Regions from separate parts of the Homo sapiens genome. Here regions 2, 3, 4, 5, 6 and 7 are each linked to region 1. The links are contacts of gene promoters, found by promoter capture Hi-C in blood cells and fetal thymus (Javierre and others, 2016). All regions are on one chromosome and are shown on one strand. Each heading gives the region's core, a stretch centred on a gene start or on the middle of the fragment in contact. The rest is flanking DNA. Distances are from core to core; before and after follow the strand shown. Region 1 holds the start of NXPE3 (neurexophilin and PC-esterase domain family member 3). Region 2 has its middle 210 kb from the start of ZPLD1. Region 3 has its middle 240 kb from the start of ZPLD1. Region 4 has its middle 190 kb from the start of RDUR. Region 5 has its middle 230 kb from the start of RDUR. Region 6 has its middle 180 kb from the start of RDUR. Region 7 has its middle 190 kb from the start of ZPLD1.

Evidence for each region. Contacts are between HindIII fragments. The CHiCAGO score rates a contact against its expected background, and 5 or more counts as called.
Region 2: a contact is called between a fragment that was not itself captured here and the fragment with the promoter of NXPE3 in region 1, in 11 of 17 cell types (naive CD4 T cells, non-activated CD4 T cells, activated CD4 T cells and 8 more). The highest score is 12.2, in naive CD4 T cells.
Region 3: a contact is called between a fragment that was not itself captured here and the fragment with the promoter of NXPE3 in region 1, in 5 of 17 cell types (naive CD4 T cells, endothelial precursors, total CD4 T cells and 2 more). The highest score is 7.5, in naive CD4 T cells.
Region 4: a fragment that was not itself captured here is called in contact with the fragment with the promoter of NXPE3 in region 1 in 1 of 17 cell types (non-activated CD4 T cells); the score reaches 5.3 in non-activated CD4 T cells.
Region 5: a contact is called between a fragment that was not itself captured here and the fragment with the promoter of NXPE3 in region 1, in 1 of 17 cell types (activated CD4 T cells). The highest score is 5.3, in activated CD4 T cells.
Region 6: a contact is called between a fragment that was not itself captured here and the fragment with the promoter of NXPE3 in region 1, in 2 of 17 cell types (naive CD4 T cells and non-activated CD4 T cells). The highest score is 6.6, in naive CD4 T cells.
Region 7: a fragment that was not itself captured here is called in contact with the fragment with the promoter of NXPE3 in region 1 in 1 of 17 cell types (total B cells); the score reaches 6.5 in total B cells.

What each region holds. Positions count from the first base shown.
Region 1 is chr3:101,777,899-101,780,598 of GRCh38, reverse strand. It overlaps NXPE3 (neurexophilin and PC-esterase domain family member 3), which reads right to left and starts at 1,388. Exons shown (of 8, transcript NM_145037.4): 1 at 1,275-1,388. RefSeq lists enhancers at 666-715, 1,280-1,574 and a silencer at 1,126-1,475. The HindIII fragment of the contact is 3,350 bases long and covers 1-2,700 here.
Region 2 is chr3:102,220,583-102,223,282 of GRCh38, reverse strand. No RefSeq gene overlaps it. Among named protein-coding and RNA genes, the nearest start is that of ZPLD1, 210 kb to the left of the region's middle. The HindIII fragment of the contact is 1,117 bases long and covers 819-1,935 here.
Region 3 is chr3:102,194,462-102,197,161 of GRCh38, reverse strand. No RefSeq gene overlaps it. Among named protein-coding and RNA genes, the nearest start is that of ZPLD1, 240 kb to the left of the region's middle. RefSeq lists an enhancer at 1,258-2,457. The HindIII fragment of the contact is 1,104 bases long and covers 867-1,970 here.
Region 4 is chr3:102,134,485-102,137,184 of GRCh38, reverse strand. No RefSeq gene overlaps it. Among named protein-coding and RNA genes, the nearest start is that of RDUR, 190 kb to the right of the region's middle. The HindIII fragment of the contact is 1,760 bases long and covers 402-2,161 here.
Region 5 is chr3:102,171,657-102,174,356 of GRCh38, reverse strand. No RefSeq gene overlaps it. Among named protein-coding and RNA genes, the nearest start is that of RDUR, 230 kb to the right of the region's middle. The HindIII fragment of the contact is 566 bases long and covers 975-1,540 here.
Region 6 is chr3:102,115,743-102,118,442 of GRCh38, reverse strand. No RefSeq gene overlaps it. Among named protein-coding and RNA genes, the nearest start is that of RDUR, 180 kb to the right of the region's middle. The HindIII fragment of the contact is 5,490 bases long and covers 1-2,700 here.
Region 7 is chr3:102,242,270-102,244,969 of GRCh38, reverse strand. No RefSeq gene overlaps it. Among named protein-coding and RNA genes, the nearest start is that of ZPLD1, 190 kb to the left of the region's middle. The HindIII fragment of the contact is 2,409 bases long and covers 155-2,563 here.

The DNA of each region.
Region 1 (2,700 bases), core at 139-2,638:
AGGAATAGGCCCAAGAAGTAGCTTTTTTTAAAAAGGTCCCTAGATGATTACAACATACAGCCAAGTGGGAGAACCACTAGTATAGAGTGGCCAGGGACTGTTATTCGTTTCAGTTGGTAAAAGGATGGCCTTTCCAAAATGATGTTTGAATTGTAACTTAAATTGTCAGGTCAGGACAACCCAATTCCCAGGCAATGGGGAAGGCTAACCCCACTTCAGTGATTTATCCCTTCGTTTCCTTTCTCAGTAACAAATAACAGCACTCTATTGGCCCCAAAGAGATTGTGAGGATAACAGACATGGAAAAAAAAATACTAAACAAATTCAAAGAAAAGCAGAACCCAAACACTACGGAGAAATAGTATACTGCTGCCTCCAAACAATTATCAGGGTCTGGGAGTCCTGCCAGTTTCAAATATATCCTGATGTTCCAAATGATAATTAACCACAGTGAGGAGCGGGGAGGCCCACCAAAGCAGTGTGATTCTTTATCTTTAGGAAATGTGGCAACAATCCCCCTTTAATGTAAATAATGAAAAGCAAAGAAAATTTACAATTTTGCACAAATGCTGCATAAATCCTGCCTCGGAACCCCTCTTATTACCACCCTAGTGGCCTTTGATCAGGCAGAAATGGGCAACAGGCCAGGGTCTCCATATCACACCTTGTAAAGTTACACTCGTTTCTCCCCATACGACCTGAATCTGATGTCCCCAAACGGCAGCTCAGTAAGGCCAGAACAGTCCACCGTGTGACAGCAGCGCCAGCCAAGAGGCAGCTGGTGCCCAGAGCAGCGATGAGCCGAGAGATATGAGATGGGCAGGGAGGCGTCGCCAAGTGCTCCGCACCGGGTTAGTGAAGGTGCCTGGAGGACAGAAGTCTTTCGCTGCGGCGTGGAGGTCCGAACTGTACCGAGCTGTGGCGTTGCCGCAAGTGGAGGAAACTGAGGATGGAGATGCTCGCTCCCGGCCCCGCCCCGCCCCGCCCCGCCGGTACTAGCCTGGGCTCCGGCTTCTTAGCTGCGACGCTTTGGCAACCCAGGGCTCCAATTCTGCCTATGCCTTCGACCCGGGCCTCCCCTCCCTGGCACCTATGCCCACAGCCACGACTCCAGGGGCTGCACCTATCAGCACGGGGCTGGGGACTCGGGAGCAGATGCGCGCGGAGGGAGGGGCTTCGCAGTCTAGGAGCGCGCTGGCAGAGCCGGGCAATGGGTCGCTCCGCCCGCAGCGGCCCCTCCCGACGTCCGCACACAGACCACATCCAGCACTCACCTCCGGGACCCGCCCGCCCTTCGCTCTCCGGGGGCCAGGGATCCTGACGCCCCGGTCGGTCGCCGCAGCGCCAGGCCGCTAGCCCCCCGCTTCCTCACCCGGCGACGTCTCCTCACCTCCGACCCCCGGCTACGATTGGTGGAGCTTCGGCGGGGGCGGGCCGAGGGCGTTGACTGACAGCAGCACGCGCCGGGCGGAACCCACAGGCCTGGAAGCGAAGTTGGCACCCTGGCGCTCTACGCCGCCAAGCTCCTGCTCGCGACGCGACACTGCAGCTGTCGCCCCGCGGATCGAGGTCTGGCCCCTCTCACGACCCAACTCCTCGTGAACTTCGGACGTCTGAGTTTCCTGGGAGCATCCACCTACCTCAAGGCTTTTCGCTTGTCAGCGAAAGTGCCCACAACCGCAGTTGACTCTAGTAGGGCAGTCTTTCCTGTGGAGTGATGGAATTTATTGTGCCCTGAACCAGAGAAATGCGATTTGCCAAGTATAAGCACGGATATAGCGGATCCTTGAATCTTTTCCTTGCTTTGACATTAGTCAACAACTTCTACTCGCCAGTAAAACAGCCCGTTCCTTTTACTCTCACTGTACATGATGTCGGTCTCTTGGCAAAGCATACTTTCCTCACCCTCCACCATCCCCAATTCTGGGTTATCCTATTTTGGACATTTTTCTAACTGGTAAAACGTCGGTAGCAGTTTTGTGAAATTCAGGAACTGAGAGGAGTCCTGAGAAGACACTTGTTCAAGAAACCAGAAGGAATTGTGGGCTGCACCGTGTTTCTCTGTGCTTGGAGCACAGTGGGGTTAACACAGGCCCCAAAAGCAGGCCTGCCCCCGGACTATTACCCCAAGGTTTAAGAAAAATAATTAATGTACATGACAACTAAGTATTTTTCCATTTCTTGACCATAATGGACTCTGCATGCTCATTCAGATGTTTTCATGGCAGGCCTGCTTCGTGGGCAACCAGATCCGTGAATGGGATAAAAGGAAGTTCTGCCACAGGGTGGAAGATCTCTTCTGTAGTAATGATCTTCTTTTTTTTTTTTTTAATATACTTTAAGTTCTAGGGTACATGTGCACAACGTGCAGGTTTGTTACATATGTATACATGTGCCATGTTGGTATGCTGCACCCATTAACTCGTCATTTACATTAAGTATATCTCCTAATGCTATCCCTCCCCCCTCCCCCTACCCCACAACATGCCCAGGTGTGTGATGTTCCCCTTCCTGTGTCCAAGTGTTCATTTATGCAGCCAACAAACACATGAAAAAATGCTCATCAGCACTGGCCATCAGAGAAATGCAAATCAAAACCACAATGAGATACCATCTCACACCAGTTAGAATGGCGATCATTAAAAAGTCAGGAAACAACAGGTGGTGGAGAGGATGTGGAGAAGTAGGAACACGTTTACA
Region 2 (2,700 bases), core at 128-2,627, 440 kb before region 1:
ATACTACACTTTTCCCACGGTTTTTGCAACCAACAGACCAGGAGATTCCCTCGGGTGACTACACCACCAGGGCCCTGGGTTTCAAGCACAAAAGTGGGCAGCTGTTCAGGCAGACACCAAGCTAGCTGCAGGAGTCTTTTTTTTGTACCCCAGTGTTGCCTGGAACTCCAGCGAGACAGAACCGTTCACCCCTTTGGAAAGGGGGCTGAAGCCAGGGAGCAAAGTGGTCTTGCTCGGTAGGTCCCACTCCCATGGAGCCCAGCAAGCTAAGAATCACTGGCTTGAAATTCTCACTGCCAGCACAGCAGTGTGAAGTTGACCTGGGGTGATCCAGCTTGGTCAGGGGCGAGGCATTCACCATTACTGAGGCTTGAGTAGGTGGTTTTCCCCTCACAGTGTTAAGGAAGCCAGGAAGTTCGGACTGGGGGGAGCTCACCTCAGCACAACAAAGTGGCTTGGGCCAGACTGCCTCTCTAGATGCCTCCTCACTGGGCAGAGCATCGCTGAAAGAAAGGCAGCAGCCCCAGTCAGGGGCTTATAGACAAAACTCCCATCTCCCTGGGACAGAGCACCTGGGGGAAGGGTGGCTGTGGGCGCAGCTTCAGCAGACTTAAATGTTCCTACTTGCCATCTCTGAAGACAGCAGCAGATCTCCCAGCACAGCCCTCAAGCTCTGCTAAGGGATAGACTGCCTCCTCAAGTGGGTTACTGACCCCTATGCTTCCTGACTGGGAGACACCTTCCAGCAGGAGTGGACAGACACCTCATACAGGAGAGCTCTGGCTGGCATCAGGCAGGTCCTCCTCTGTGATGAAGCTTCCAGAGGAAGGAGCAGGCAGCAATCTTTGCAGTTTTGCAGCCTCTGCTGGTGATACCCAGGCAAACAGAGTCTGGAGTGGACCTCCAGCAAACTCCAGCAGACCTGCAAAAGAGGGGCCTGATTGTTAAAGGAAAAACTAACAAAGAGAAAGCAATAACATTGACATCAACAAAAAAGATGCCCACACAAAAACCTCATCAAAAGGTCATCAGCATCAAAGATTAAAGGTAGATAAATCCACAAAGATGACGAAAAAACAGAACAAAAATGCTGAAGATTCCAAAAATCAGAATGCCTCTTCTCCTCCAAATGATAACAACTCTTCTCCAGCAAGGGCACAAAGCTGGATGGAGAATTAGTTTGACAAATTGACAGAAGTAGGCTTCAGTAGGTGGGTAATAGCAAACTCCTCTGAGCTAAAAGAGCATGTTCTAACCCAAAGCAAGGAAGCGAAGAACCTTGATAAAAGGTTACGGAAACTGCTAACTAGAATCACAAGTTTAGAGAGGAATATAAACGACCTGATGGAGCTGAAAAACACAGCACAAGAACTTGTGAAGCACACACAAGTAGCAGTAGCCGAATCAATCAAATGGAAGAAAGGATATCAGAGATTGAAGATCAACTTACTGCAATAAGGCATGAAGACAAGATTAGAGAAGAAAGAATAAAATGGAATGAAAAAACTCTCCAAGAAATAGGGGACTATGTGAAAAGACCAAACCTATGATTGATTGGTATACCTGAAAGTGACGGGAAGAATGGAACCAAGTTGGAAAACACTCTTCAGGATATTATCCAAAAGAACTTCCCCAACCTAGAAAGACAGGCCAACATTCAAATTCAGGAAATACAGACAACATTACTAAGATACTCCTTGAGAAGAGCAACTCCAAGACACATAATCATCAGATTCTCCAAGCTGAAATGAAGGAAAAAATGTTAATGGTAGCTAGAGAGAAAGGTCAGTTTACCTACAAACGGAAGCCCATCAGACTAACAGCAGATCTCTCTCCAGTAACCCTACAAGCCAGAAGAGAGTGGGAACCAACATTCAACATTCTTAAAGTAAAGAATTTTCAACCCAGAATTTCATAATCCAGCCAAACTAAGCTTCATAAACGAAGGAAATATAAAATCCTTTACAGACAAGCAAATGCTGGGGGATTTTGTCACCACCAGGCCTGCCTTACAAGAGCTCCTTAAGGAAGCACTAAATATGGAAAGGAAAAACCAATAATAGGCAGAGAGCCAAATCATGAGCGAACTGCCATTCACAATTGCTTCAAAGAGAATAAAATACTTAGGAATACAACTTACAAGGGATGTGAAGGACCTCTTCAAGGAAAACTACAAACCACTGCTCAAGAAAATAAGAGAGGACGCAAACAAATGAAAAAACATTCCATGCTCAATGATAGGACGAATCAATATCGTGAAAATGGCCATACTACCCAAAGTAATTTATAGATTCAAAGCTATTCCCATCAAGCTACCATTGACTTTCTTCACAGAATTAGAAAAAATTTACTTAAAATTTCATATGGAACCCAAAAAGAGCTCGTATAGCCAAGACAATCTTAAGCAAAAAGAACAAAGCCAGAGGCCTCATGCTACCTCATTTCAAACTATACTACAAGGCTACAGTAACCAAAACAGCATTCTACTTGTATCGAAACAGATATATAGATAAATGGAACAGAACAGAGGCCTCAGAAATAACACCACACATCTACAACCACCTGATCTTTGACAAACCTGACAAAACAAGCAACGGGGAAAGGATTCCCTATTTAATAAATGGTGCTGGGAAAATTGGCTAGTCATATGCAGAAAACTGAAACTGGATCCCCTCCTTACACCTTATACAAAAATTAACT
Region 3 (2,700 bases), core at 169-2,668, 420 kb before region 1:
AGCAGAAAAAAAAAGAAGAGAAGAGATTAAAAGAAGAAAAAACAGTTAATCAAGTGTAGGAAGCATCTTAGTCTACAAATTCTGATATGTGAGAAATACAGCTTTATTTGTTTCAGAAACCAATCTCTTTCTCGAGTCCCTATTCCACTGAGGTAGTAGAAATGTAACCTAATTCTCTCCAAGTTTTATTTTCATCTAAATTCTTCAATCTTACTTAGTACTAAGGTGTGTGTGGTTGACATGCCTGTGTGTGGCTAGTGTGTGTGTGCACATGTGTGTGATGGGAGTGGGCAATTGAAGGAACACTTGCATTTGAACCTCAGAGTCATCTCACACTGGCATCTACTGTCCCATCTCAGATCACACATCCTCCTCAGTGGCTGGTCCATCTGGGCACCTGAAAAAATGTCCTTGGTTTCCACCTGCACGGTCCCTTCAGGAACTCCTTCTCCACCATTCTTGGTTGCAAAGATGTCATTTGCTGCTCCCTCATGATAATACGGTGTGAGAAACTCTAGGAGCCGTCTAACATCCCATCTGGTTAGAGCCACATGGCAGAGCTGTTTTCCCTTCTCTCACCAGCTGCTCTGAAGAGAAATGAGGTATAGGCTGTCTCTCCTCTCAGATCCCCCAAGCTATCTAGAGCTATTGTCAAAGCCTCCAGCTTGGCACAGGACCTTTTCCAGGAACCCCCCCAAGCTTCCTTGCCTTTTCTCATTTATTTCTTATTCTGATAGCCCAAGGAATCCTTCCTGGTGGGGGAGGCCATGGGTGAAAAGTTTTCCTCCCTAGTTTCCAAGCCGCTTCTGTCTTGGTCTCACTCCTGTTCTAAGCCCTCATGAAGAAACAAAAGCCCCAACAAAGCTTTTTCCCTCTCCTGAGGCAATACATATGGGCTAGTTATTTATATGGAGGCAAGTAAGAGACAAAGAGGAGAAAGTGCCATGGGGAAAAAAAAAAAACCATAGGATAGTCTTTCAAAAATATTATACCTCCCAGAATCCGAGACAAGGTAGCAGCAGGCTGGCCTAAGCATCACACAAGAGCAGAGGAAGGCTAACAGTAAAGAAACATTTTGAGTTGGAGATTACAATTCATACTAAATGGTTATATTTTCTTAAACATTTCCCTTTCATAGGATGAGCTTCTCTGTCAGGAAAAAGGTGAGATACTTTCTGGGAGTAAAATGAGGTCGAATTGAAGAAGGTTTACTAAGGACAATCAGCTCTAATAGCCCTTTGAACCATTAACACGTGGGTTTCTCACAACAGGTAAGGTTGGCATCACAATTCCCTTTTACACATGACAGAATGAAAGCCTGGGCATTCATCCAAAGTCACATGAACCAGTGGCAGTGCTGTGAAGGTTTGAGGTGAGTGGAAACGTTTATTCCCATCAACTCCTGGCTTCCTTCTTCTCCCATGACTGAGCTTTAAAACGTAACTTGTCTTCAAGTGTATAAAACTCTCCAATCAGTGATTTAAGAAAAAAATTTTCTGTGTCATTGACAGGAGTTGTTACCTGCTTGAGAAAATGAAACCAGGACGTGACTCAGCATGGAAAAGTGGGAAGTGATTTTGTGGGAACATTATCTCCTACAGTAACCAATTTTGCTGGGGCTTTGATTTGCTAATGAGCAATACTTCCACAGAAACATACATATTTTCATCATATAACTCCTAAGAGCAGTGCACCTGCCTCCTGGGACAGGCTGGCACAGGCACATTCTTATGCTGGAATCTGTGTCCCAGGGGTCAAGTGGGATGGGTGGAGTACATTTCTGAAGCAGCCTGAAGCAGGAAGAGCAAGAGCTGTGTAATTGTTCAGTCTTTGGAGAGCACCAAAAAGCAGACTCCGGAAGCAGAGTTCAGCCATCAAGTATAGAGCAGAGAGGACACCAGAGGCAAGATCTGAAAGTCCAAAGCAGGTAGAAGCAGCACAGAAGTGAAAATAATAGTCTAGGGGAAGCTTAGCCCTCCAGACTTTACAAGAAGTCAGCAAGTGATATTAGAAAAGAAATAATTATGCTTTAAATACCATCCCCCATGTAAATATTTCTTTTTTTAACTTCATTGTTTAATAACAATGGGTTATAACAGGCAAATGATTTTTTCTGAGATGGGGTCTCACTCTGTTGCCCAGGGTAGAGGGCAGTGTTGCTATCATGGCTCATCACAGTGGGGCTCAAGCAATCCTCCCACATCTGCCTCCAGAGTAGGTGGGACTATAGGGGCGAACCACCACATCTGGCTAATTTTCATTTTCATTTTTATTGTAGAAGTGGAGTTTCACCATGTTGCTCAGGCTGGTCTCAAACTCCTGGGCCCAAGCAATCCTCCCACTTTAACCTCCCAAAGTGCTGGAATTACAGGCATGGGCCACTGCACCCAGCCAGACATGTGATTTTTAATTTGACTTTTTTCTTCATATATTATGAATATTTTACCTTTCCTTTATTTTTCAATCTACAGCAGTTTGATTTTTGCTATGACTGCTCCCTTGTCTGCCCTAATAAAAGAAACAAGTGGTACAATCATTGCTAAATCTAAGGCCACCTCCAGTCTTGTCTTACTTTTATCTTCCTTGGCCACTTCTTCCATAATCAAACATCCGTCCTTTGACTTTCTCAACATGCCTTTATCCTGGTTTTCATCTATTTCTAGCTGTTCCTTCTGATCTCCTCGTTAGTCACTCTCTTCT
Region 4 (2,700 bases), core at 32-2,531, 360 kb before region 1:
ATTTTCCACTCAGATTTGCTGTGACCCAAAACTTCTCTAAAAATAATAGTCTACTAGTTAAAAATAAATAAATAAATAACAAAAAAGACATTGAACTCCTTTGTGAGGTAGCAATCTGCCCATCACTGTAAATAAAGGCTGAGAGAATGGCTGTCAAGAATACTACAGAAGGAATACCTGAATTATAGAGAAATTGTATGTCTAACCTCTACATTTTCTCCCACCTCTTAAGTTCCTATCATTTATTCATTCAACAAATACACTTTCTAGTTATTTTTAAGCGTGAGATATTTGTACCTCTGGGAATATGTGATGGTAGACCAGTAGATACCCAAAGCCACAGAGTATGCAGGGTGTATCTTCCAAGAGCATTGATTTTTTTAGATTTTTAAGCTAAAGCTTATTTTATTCACAGAAATTCCATTATTTATAAGCACCTTAGAAACAAACAGATGTTATGATTAATTTCCTTTTTCTGTTTCCCTCTTTGAAGTACATTATGGTCACACAGTATGTGCAGAGAGAAAGTAAAACAATTTACTTCTATTGTAGAAAAAAATTAATACATTTTTTGTGCTGATATGAACAGCAAAACTAAAGAAAGAAAAAGAGAGAAGCCAGACAGAATGAGCATGTTAATGAGAGAAATGTTAAATATGTAAAGATAATTGAATACAACTTGAAATCATGCAATGTCATAAAAGCATTCCTATTGCTACCTTCACATTACCAATAAACTGAAATTAGTCATATAACTCTGTTCTCTGCATGTCAGCGCACTTCATTCAAGCATGAAGACAAACTCACTGACAACCTAGAAAAATCAACATCCTTGACGTGTCTTTACACTGTTACAGGTATATGTTGCCTCAAACATCCTCATTCAATCAACAAAGTAATTGCTCTCCCTTCTAAGCTCCCACCCACTAAATTACTCTGAGAAATGCTTTTCAAACCACTCCCAGAGGACCATCACATTTTTCTTGGGAAGGAATTAGGAAACTTACTACTCTGCTTACAAAGCCAGTGGTTTTGGTGCTGGGGTCTGGTTTACAACCCTGGCTGGGAGACTGGCCTCAGGGAAGAGGGTATCCCAGCCCAGGGCTCAAGGACTAACTCATTAGGAGCCCTCCTTCCAGAAGGCGCTGTTCATTTACACCAACAGGTGTATGTATACCTGTTGTTTATGTCCATTTACAAAATTCTCCTAAAGCAATTTAATAGTGAAAGAAAACCTGGCACATCAAAAACCGGACTCCGTATTTACAAGATTCTATAGAAAGGTAAGTACACAAGATCTAGAGAATGCACTGGGCGTCTCCTTCCTGTGAATATTTGAAGTTTACATTTTTATTTTATTTAAGTTATGGAGGATATGTATTTGTTTTCTCTCAGTGCCATAAAAATAGTTTATCTACAAGAAATCTTACAAAAGTCAGGTCAGGACTCCTGCCTAATGAATAAAAACCAGATGTCAAGGAAACTTCTACCATAGGACTTTTGCTTCTATGCTTCTAATAATGGTGCAGAACTATGACTGCACCAATATTTTGTTGTTGATGGGTTTGATTTTGGTTTTGGGGTTTTGGTTTTTAGAATGGGGAAGTTTCAATCAGGAAAAGTAAGGCTAGAAGTAAGGTTTGTCTAGAGATTGGCCAGACACAGCGAGGAAACAAACTTGAGATTTACTGCAAGAACAAAATGCTTATCATACAAAAAGGGCTCCTGGAAAAGATGTGATGGATGTCATCGGGGTGCTTCCTCTTTCACTGAGAAATCAGGAGGCGCTCGAGTCTTGAAGATTAGACACACACAGGGGACCAAGCCCTCGAGCTCAATACCTGTAATCCCTGTAAATCTAAGAAGCAAGGAAACTGATGGTGTCTTTGGTTCTTTGCCTGTTTAGGGGGTCTCAGCAACTCCCTAGTAGAAGGCAGGATTTTCCTGTTACATGGCAGTGGTAAGATCAGGGCAATCAATAAACATCAGATACACAATAGATTACCTGGGTTTCTAGGTGTCAGAAGTAGCTGGTTTTCAGAGAGCTGCCAAATACTTTTTCATTCAGTTTTTCATTCTTTCAACAAATATTGTTGAATGTGCCTGGCACTATCCTTTCTAGTTATACAGCAATAAACAAGCCCTTTTCCTTCAAGAAGCTTACATTCTAATGGGGAAAATGAGGGAGGAGAAGGAAAAAGAAGGAACAACCAGTAGCTGCTGACCAGAGGTCCCAAGGTAGACCACCACAAAGTGCTTTTCAGTCCAGCATCCTACTATCCTCCATCCTCCCTATCTCGTAAAGCCTATGTAATTGGTGGAAGGCTCTAACTGGGTTTTCGAGACAAAAGGCTATTTTCCAGCAGCAGCCCAGAATTCGGATTACCATTTAGGAGCACTTCTATGGAACGTCAATATTAATTTCTGAGCTTGCAGGGTTGTCTTTCTACTCATCTCCATTTCCCAGGTTCCTATGAGTAGCAGTGAACATAGCGGAAATTGTACGAGCTTTAGAGCCACACCCACTGAGGAAGTTGGAAATTAGGTGACCCTGAATACGTTACTTAGTCTAAGTTTAGTCATATGTAAAATGTGGAAAATACCTAACTCATTATCTGATTATAAAATGAAATGATGTACAGAAGGTCTCTACTAGAGTGTCTGGCACATGGCAAGTGCTTTTGACATATACCTATTATT
Region 5 (2,700 bases), core at 8-2,507, 390 kb before region 1:
TTCTGTGCACTCTAGGTTTTTTGGTGCTTTTTGTATCTTCCATAATCATTGAAAACTCCCCCAAAAAGCATAGGTTATTTTACTGTTACATTTATTAATAAAATCCAACAAACTTTTCTTTATAAATCCATTTTTTTTCTATCTTGTGTGAGTCTGGAAGCCACAATAATGTCAATATTGTCTTAACATTAAATCTTAGTCAAAGAGGACCGTGGCTCATTTTTTATGTATGCATATTTGATATGGCTTTGTTGTTTTGGTAAACAATTCAAACAGTACAGAAAAATACAAAAGGAACATAATTGTCACCTGAAGTTCAGCCCTCAGATGTTTCCAATGTTAGCATTTCTCTGAACATATGCCCCAATGTATCTCCGTGCCTACAGACACATATGGAAATGAATATACAATTTTATATTAAGGGGATCTTTCTATTCAGACTGTTTGAAGCATGGTTTTTTCACTCGACCATATCTTGGACATGTGATTCCATGCTTATAAAATCAGAACTCCAGCCAGGCGCAGTGGCTCACATTGTAATCCTAGCACTTTGGGAGGCTGAGGTGGGCGAATCACGAGGTCAAGAGATCGAGGCCATCCTTGCCAACATGGTGAAATCCCATCTCTACTAAAGATACAAAAATTAGCTGGGCATCGTGGCAGGCACCTGTAGTCCCAGCTACTTGGGAGACTGAGGCAGGAGAATCACTTGAACCTGGAAGGTGGAGGTTGCAGTGAGCCGAGATCACGCCGCTGCACTCCAGCCTGGGCGACAGAGTGAGACTCCGTCTCTAAAATTATAATATAATATAATATAATATAATATAATATAATATAATATAATATAATATAATCCTCGCAGCTTGCAAGGCTGAGTGTAATCTGGCCGTGTCCACTTTTCATATAGCATTGGCGACTTCTCCCACCTTAGTCATCTCACTGGCCTCCTTGTCATTCCTCAAGCAAACAAAGCTTATTCCTACCTGATGGCCTTTATATTTCTGCTTCCTTCCTCCTGGAATGCTTTTCTTTCCATTTTTTCTTTGAGAGACCACCTCATGCTTGACGTTTAGATCCCAGCTGAAATGTCCTCTATTCAGAGATCTCCCACGATGACTTTATCTGAAGGGGCTACTCAGTCCCTCTACATTTAATTACCCTGAGTTATTTTCATAATAATGTTATCTCTGTCTGAAGTTATTTGATTAAGTTGTCAAATGACTGGGACATTTTTAATTGAATCATCTTAACAATAAGGAGGTTAATAAACAAACCAACTGTACTTCAAGCAAATCAAGACATTATCAGAAGCCAAGACTCAAAGAACAATGGGCATGACTTTAGAATAACTTAGGGATCCTTGACTTACATCTACAAACATAAAAGAACAACTGGAATGTCATCTAGAGCATACCAAGAATTCTCACAGTTATTGTTTATAAGTTAAAGAGTTTAAACCATCCTGGTATAGATTTCTTTATTATAATATTTATAAACTGCAAGACAGTTGTCAAAATCTAAATTTTAGGTTACATAAGCTTCCAATAAGTAAAATTATCTTTATGTTGTAAGGAAGATTAGAAGTTTAGCTTCAATGATGAGGTCCCTAAGACATAAAAATGGTAATAAAATATCTTTTCTCAAAATCTACTCATTAATAAACAATCTGGCAATGGAGTCTATAGCCAGATTTTCTGTGAGTAATTGTAAGTATAAATCATACTATCATTTGAGAAAAACATGCATCTCATCTCTAAGAGGAAAATTTTTAGAAACATTGAGAAAGAGTGACCTGGTTCAATTAACATGAATACCATGGACATTTGAAGAAAAAGGAGACTAATGATTCTAAAAATCATTTAATAAAGAGCACTTTATTTGATTTAAAATAAAAATAAAAACCACTATTTTGAGGGCTGTTTTGGTTATTTCTTAGTAATAAATTCACAGGGCTCTAGGACTCTCAGAAGCATCCTGAAAAATGTGAACACAGGCACTAAACATATACATTAAAGATTAATTAGTAGAAAACAATTCCTGTAGAATTCAGAACAAAGTGCTTATAGTTCATTTAAGTAAAAAAAAAAATGTTATTTTCCAATTTAAAGGATACTTGGAAATTAAGCATTTCTTTCTTCCCACTGAACTATATATTTTAAGACAATTTGGGATCTTCAGTTGGCCATGAATGTCTATTGAGTATGGATGTGTTTCCTCTACCCAGAACTTGAACTCATTAAGGGAGGGAAGCATTGTTAATTTCATAATTGTACAGAAAATTCCACTGTAGAAATGCCTGCTGTAACTGAAGCATTGCGTCAAGCATTCTGAAGTTGTCAAATGAAATTAAATGATGAGAATAATTTTGGAGATGGTTGTTTTGTACTTTTGGGGTGAATCAATTTTTCTGTCCTTTTATTAAGTATGTTACAAGTCTACAATGTTCTTCCCATTACTCCCCAAATACAATAATCAAAATCTCCCATTCTACTTGCACAACATTCATATCCAGTCTTTTTAGGGCTCCTTCTCCAGGTGTTTTTAAGGTTTTCAATGATTGCATGTACATGTTCCACAACTCTGTGTAGGTTGTTGGATATCCATTGTCAATTCAGGCAGCTGCTCCACAGATCTCTGCTGCTGCAGCTCTCCAAAGTCCAGGCCACAGTGTCCAGTAATACTTTACTGAAGACTGGGGCA
Region 6 (2,700 bases), core at 183-2,682, 340 kb before region 1:
TACTTGAAATCTGCTAAGAGATTACATCTCAAATGTTCTCACTGCTCAAAGACATACAAAAGGTAAAGTTATGGTCTGAATGTTTGTGTGTCCCCAGAATTAATATGTTAAAACATAATCTCCAGTGCAGTGTTGTTGGCAGGTATGGTATCTGGCAGGTGATTAGGTTATGAGGGCTCTTCCCTCATGAATGGGATTAGTGCCCTTATAAAAGAGGCCCAGGAGAGCTTGTTTGTCCCTCCTGCTATGTTAGGCACCATGTATGAAGAATGGGCCCACATCAGACACTGCATCTACTGGTCCCTTAATCTTGGATTCCTCAGTCTCTAGATCTATGAAAACAAATTTCTGTTGTTGATAAATTACCCAGTCTGAGGTAATTTGTTATAGCAGCTTAAACAGAACAAGACAAGTAACTATGTTACTTATGGTAAATATGTTAACAATGTGATTTTTAAAGTGTATGACTATGTTGCATATTTTAAAAATTGGAAATTTAGATTAAATAAATGCATGACAAAAAGAAAACATATAATAGAATAACATATAACCTATTTGTACATAGAAGAAGCTGAAGCCAAGAGAAGTGAAATGTCAACCCAAAGACCAAAGATGATTAATGGCAGAGCCTACATTGAAACCATGGAGAATCAATTCTGCTGGGTGAGACAGAGTAATCAAGCCATCTAAGGTAGCAGGGTGGCCAGGGATACCAAAATCTATAAATCTGGTATTCTTTAGCTGTCATTATTTCTCATCTCTGAAGCTCTTGACATTGGAGCAAATTCTATGTCTTTATAGTACCCAACTTCTAATTAAAATTGCCAAGACATGTGGCATCTACATTTTTAATAAAGAACATGCTAAGAACATGGAATATATCTGACTAAACATCCCATGGAGGAATAAAAATCAAAGCAAGAAGCTAAGAACTGGGGTGTCAAAGTCAATTGGGAAGCAGAAAGGGCCTTGTGTCAAGACCTGGGAAAGGTCCCAGTCACCAATCAGGCTATTAGGATGGGGTTGGATAGGGACCATACAACCAGGCTTGCATTTATGGGTGATTCCCACAGGCAGCTCACACTTAGTACTCTCTTCCCCGCCCTTATTTCCACTACCTTTATTCAGATTTCCTGATATCATTAACGCAAGTCTGTTTCTTCTGCTAAATTGTCAGTTCCAGGGAGGTCAAAGGCAATGTCTTCATCTTCACATGCCCTATTGTGCCCTGTGCCCCACACAGTACTTTGAACACAAAAAGCCCTTAAATTCTTAGAACACTAGAAGCAGAAAGGCCTTTGGAAAATACGTAATTTTTATCAAAATTTTAAAAACTTATTTAAAAGCAACAAATCCCTCTTCAAATGAAATATTATCTAGAACCTTCAATATATAAAACAGATAAAAGAGGAGATGCTCTGGTAGAAGCGGGAGCAGGGGAAGGGGGAAACAGACAAAGGTCAACTCAATAATTTCTCATCCTCATTCCTCTCACCAACCCCTGCAACACTTCAGGGAACACAATTTAGAAATGTCTGATGCCATGCAACCCCTTTATTTTCTAGATGGAGACATTCCTTAAAGGTGTTTTTACAGAGTTAACATATCCAAGGCAAGGCTGGTGAGCTGCAATGGTTCGGGTCATCGTGTTTCTCTTGCCTATTACCTGAAGTGCTTGCTTAAAAATGCGGATTCAGCCAAGACCTAGAACAGATTTGAATTGAATTAAGGCTGGTCCTAATGATTATGCAGGCCCTCAGGTGTACAGCAGGCCCTCAGTAAATTTTTAATGAATCAATAGGTTGAAATGTTGAATTGAATAGGAGTCTCTCATCAGACTTTCATAGACTTTCTCATATGCATCAAGCATGGAAAGTAAAAAGATAAATAAGATAAAATCCCTGCCACTGGAGAACTCACTGTCCAGTAAGAGAGAAGTAAACACATCATTTAGTACTTTATGATAGGTAATTAAACAGAAGTACTTCTGGGGTGCTGTTTGGGCCACAGAGGAGGGGTTTTTAACCCAATAGGACACATGCTTAGAATACAATGCCTGAGCCAAGTCTTAGAAAATAATTAGGAATTAACCGATCAATGAAAGGTAAGAAGGAACAGCGTAAGTAAAGGAAAACTTGAAAGTAATATATAACATGGTTTATCCCAGTTCCTAGCAGGAGACAAAGGTAATTTTAGGGAGCAAAGAGGAGTAGAGTAGTGTCGCCCATATGTGAGGTTCTTCCATCTTTGGAAGGCAGTGCATGACCAATACCCATACTTGCTCAGAGATCACCTCCAACCGTACAGGTAGCTGAGCCTAGTGGGGTGCTTGGGAAGTGGCAGTGGGAGAGCAGAGCCAGAAGCCAGTGAGCCCAGAAAGTCCACCCAGTCTTGAGCCTTGAAGCCAGAGCACCGGGGCCATAGCAGCCAGGAGAGACTGGCATGGAACAAAGCCTCTAAGGACTCCAAGTAAAAAGGAAAATCACAAAGGTGTTGATTAGTTCAATTCTTAGCGTGGTAGAAAACACAAACTTTCCTTGTATGTGCCATTTGGAAGGAGTCAGTTGATTCAGTCTATCTGAATGAGTAGGTCAAGGCAGGGGGAGAACATATGGTAGAGAACATAACCTGTGTAGACTCTGGAAACACATGCCTTCTTCCTTCCTAGAGTACGTATTTGGAGGAGACCCTCATTAGGAA
Region 7 (2,700 bases), core at 110-2,609, 460 kb before region 1:
AGCTCTCCCTGCCTTATTCCCTACTAGAAACCAATCTACACTCCTGCAAAAGTAAGCTTCCTAAACCTGTCCAAAGCTGTTCACTTTGGACAGACTACGTCTGCTCAAAAGTCACCTGTGGTTCCCTGTTGCCAGCATAATAAAATTCTAAGCTTTGATGTAAATATCTGCTCTGACTTAATTCTACTCCGTAAATATTTGTCACATTTCCTCTTTTGTATATTAGCCACTCCTTGAGCAACCTCCATGCCTTTGCTTGATGCATTCCACCTGCCTAAGATGGTGCCTTGTTGTCTGCTACATGTCCTTCATGACCCAGCTCAAGTCATCACTTCTCCACAAAGTCTTCCCAATTGTCCACTTCATAGTCATCTCAATTGTCCATTTCATAGCCATCTCACTTCTCTCTAGGTATTTATCTTTGCCATGCACTGGCCACTCAGCATATTCCATCCTGTTATACCCTTTATATCCTGAGATTATAACTACAGTATACCTTTATTGAATGCAAGGACTATATATCTGACAATATTTCTCTTGCATTCATCATAATGCCTGATATGGAGTAACAATAGCACTGTATATATCACTAAATATATATATCATTATATATCACTATATATATCACTATATATATATATATATATAGAGAGAGAGAGAGAGAGAGAGAAACACTTTGGAATATACAAAGCACTTGCGACTTCCAAGGTAGCCATACTCCCAGCAACATAAACACTGGACCCCACCATCCCAGCCTTGCCCCAGGAGGCTCCCACACCTATTCTCACTATTAACTCTTTGCTTTCAGCTTATAGATGAGGACACTGAGACTCAGAAGATTCAGTTTCCCTGTAGTAAGTCAAAACCTGATTCTTCTACTTAACCACACTGCCGCTATTATGAGCATTCAAAATATTTTTGTGGACGTATGCCATGACTATCAGCACCACCACCAACTCCAGGAAGTTAGTAGAAGAGCAAAGATGTGTATGTGTGTGTGTATTGTGTTGTGGCAATGACCGAGTGTGGTAGATAAACAGTGTAGCAGTAGCAAATATACAAAATCAAGAAAAACAAACAAACAAATAATAGTTGTGATATTTAAGAGCTTCCAAGTTTTAAGCCTGTCACTAATTAGCTGTATGCTCTTGGGCAAGTCATCTGCAACAGATTTCTACCTGGTGCCCCAACTCAGGCAAAGATGATATAACCTCAATCCCCTTGTCCTTGGTCCCACCCAAAACAAAAGAATTTACAGGCCTGTACCACACCTCAGACCATAACCAATACCTAACCAAGGAATATAAGGATGATGATTATTTAAAATGCCAGTAGACATTAATTGAAGTTGAAGCTAAAGCACCAAGGAATATTACCTCCTTTAGGATTATTTAGAAAAACAGATAATTATGGGTCTGAGATGCTTAAGATATATGTGGTTCTGTTTAAGGTAGGAGTGTGAACTTAGTGCACTGTTACTATCTTCCATAAATCCCTATTGTAGAGTTTATAGGTGAAAACAATATGAAACTCTAATCTTGGAAACTGGATTAGTAAGAATTAGCTGTGTAACCATGTGGGAAAATTCACTTAATCTTTCCACACTCAATAACTCTACCTGTGAAATGAGGAAAGTGGTTAGGTCAAAGAATTTTTGAAATCATTTACATGTGTTAAAATCTTCACCTAAATATTATTGATAAATTTAAAATAGATCCTTCAAATACATTTTTTTAAAGCTGAGTTTTGACTGATCTTTATAGATAATTTTTTAAGTAGTGTAGGAATGTTAAGCAGTATATTCAAAAGCCTGCATGTAATTATAATAACTGCTAAGCATAATTAATCTTATTCATTCCATGCCCAGCTATTTACCTAAATCTTTACTGTAACTTTTAGCTAGGTGGGATCTCTCTGTGACTCTGTGACTCTATTTGAAAGAAAACAGAATCCCAACAAGGCTTCCAGAAGACTTCTTTTAGAGCTCTGCTGTGAGGATTAATGAAGCAAAGTCTCCTGCTATGAACTTCAATTCCAAGAGAATCAATGGCCCCAGGAAGGGTTGGAAGGAATTCCAGCAGAAGTCAGAATAATACATTCTCTTCCCATCTTTTTCACTAACCATTGAATCAAGAGTAATGAGTTTCGGCTTGCTCGTCGTCATTAGTTCCAGCTGTAAAATGGAGGTAAACATACAGTCAAGAACTCTTTCCCCCATAAGCCTGAGCAGGGCAGCTCCTACTGCCATCTATTCCGTAATTCCCAAATTGCTGGCATTTGTTTTCTATTGCCGAATCCAAATTACCACAATCTCAGTAGCTTAAAACAAAACATTTATTATCTCACAGTTTCCTTAGGTCAAGGCATGGCTTAACTGGGTCCCCTGCTCAGGGTTTTACAAAGCTGCTGGGCTGCATTTTCATCTGGAAGCTCAAATGAGTAAAAATCTGCACCCAAATTCATTGAAGTTGTTGATAGAAATTGCTTCCTTGTAGCTATAATACGTAGGGCCCTGGCTTTTTGCTGGCTATTGATTGGAGGTCACCTCCAGGTCCCGGAAGCTTCCCATTATTCCTAAAGGCTCCCTGCAGTGTTGGCTTCTCCAACATGACTGCTTACTTCATCAGGCCCACAAGGAGTCTCCAGTTCCAGAACTCATATAATCTATAGCAGTCACAGAAATGACATCCATCACCTTTG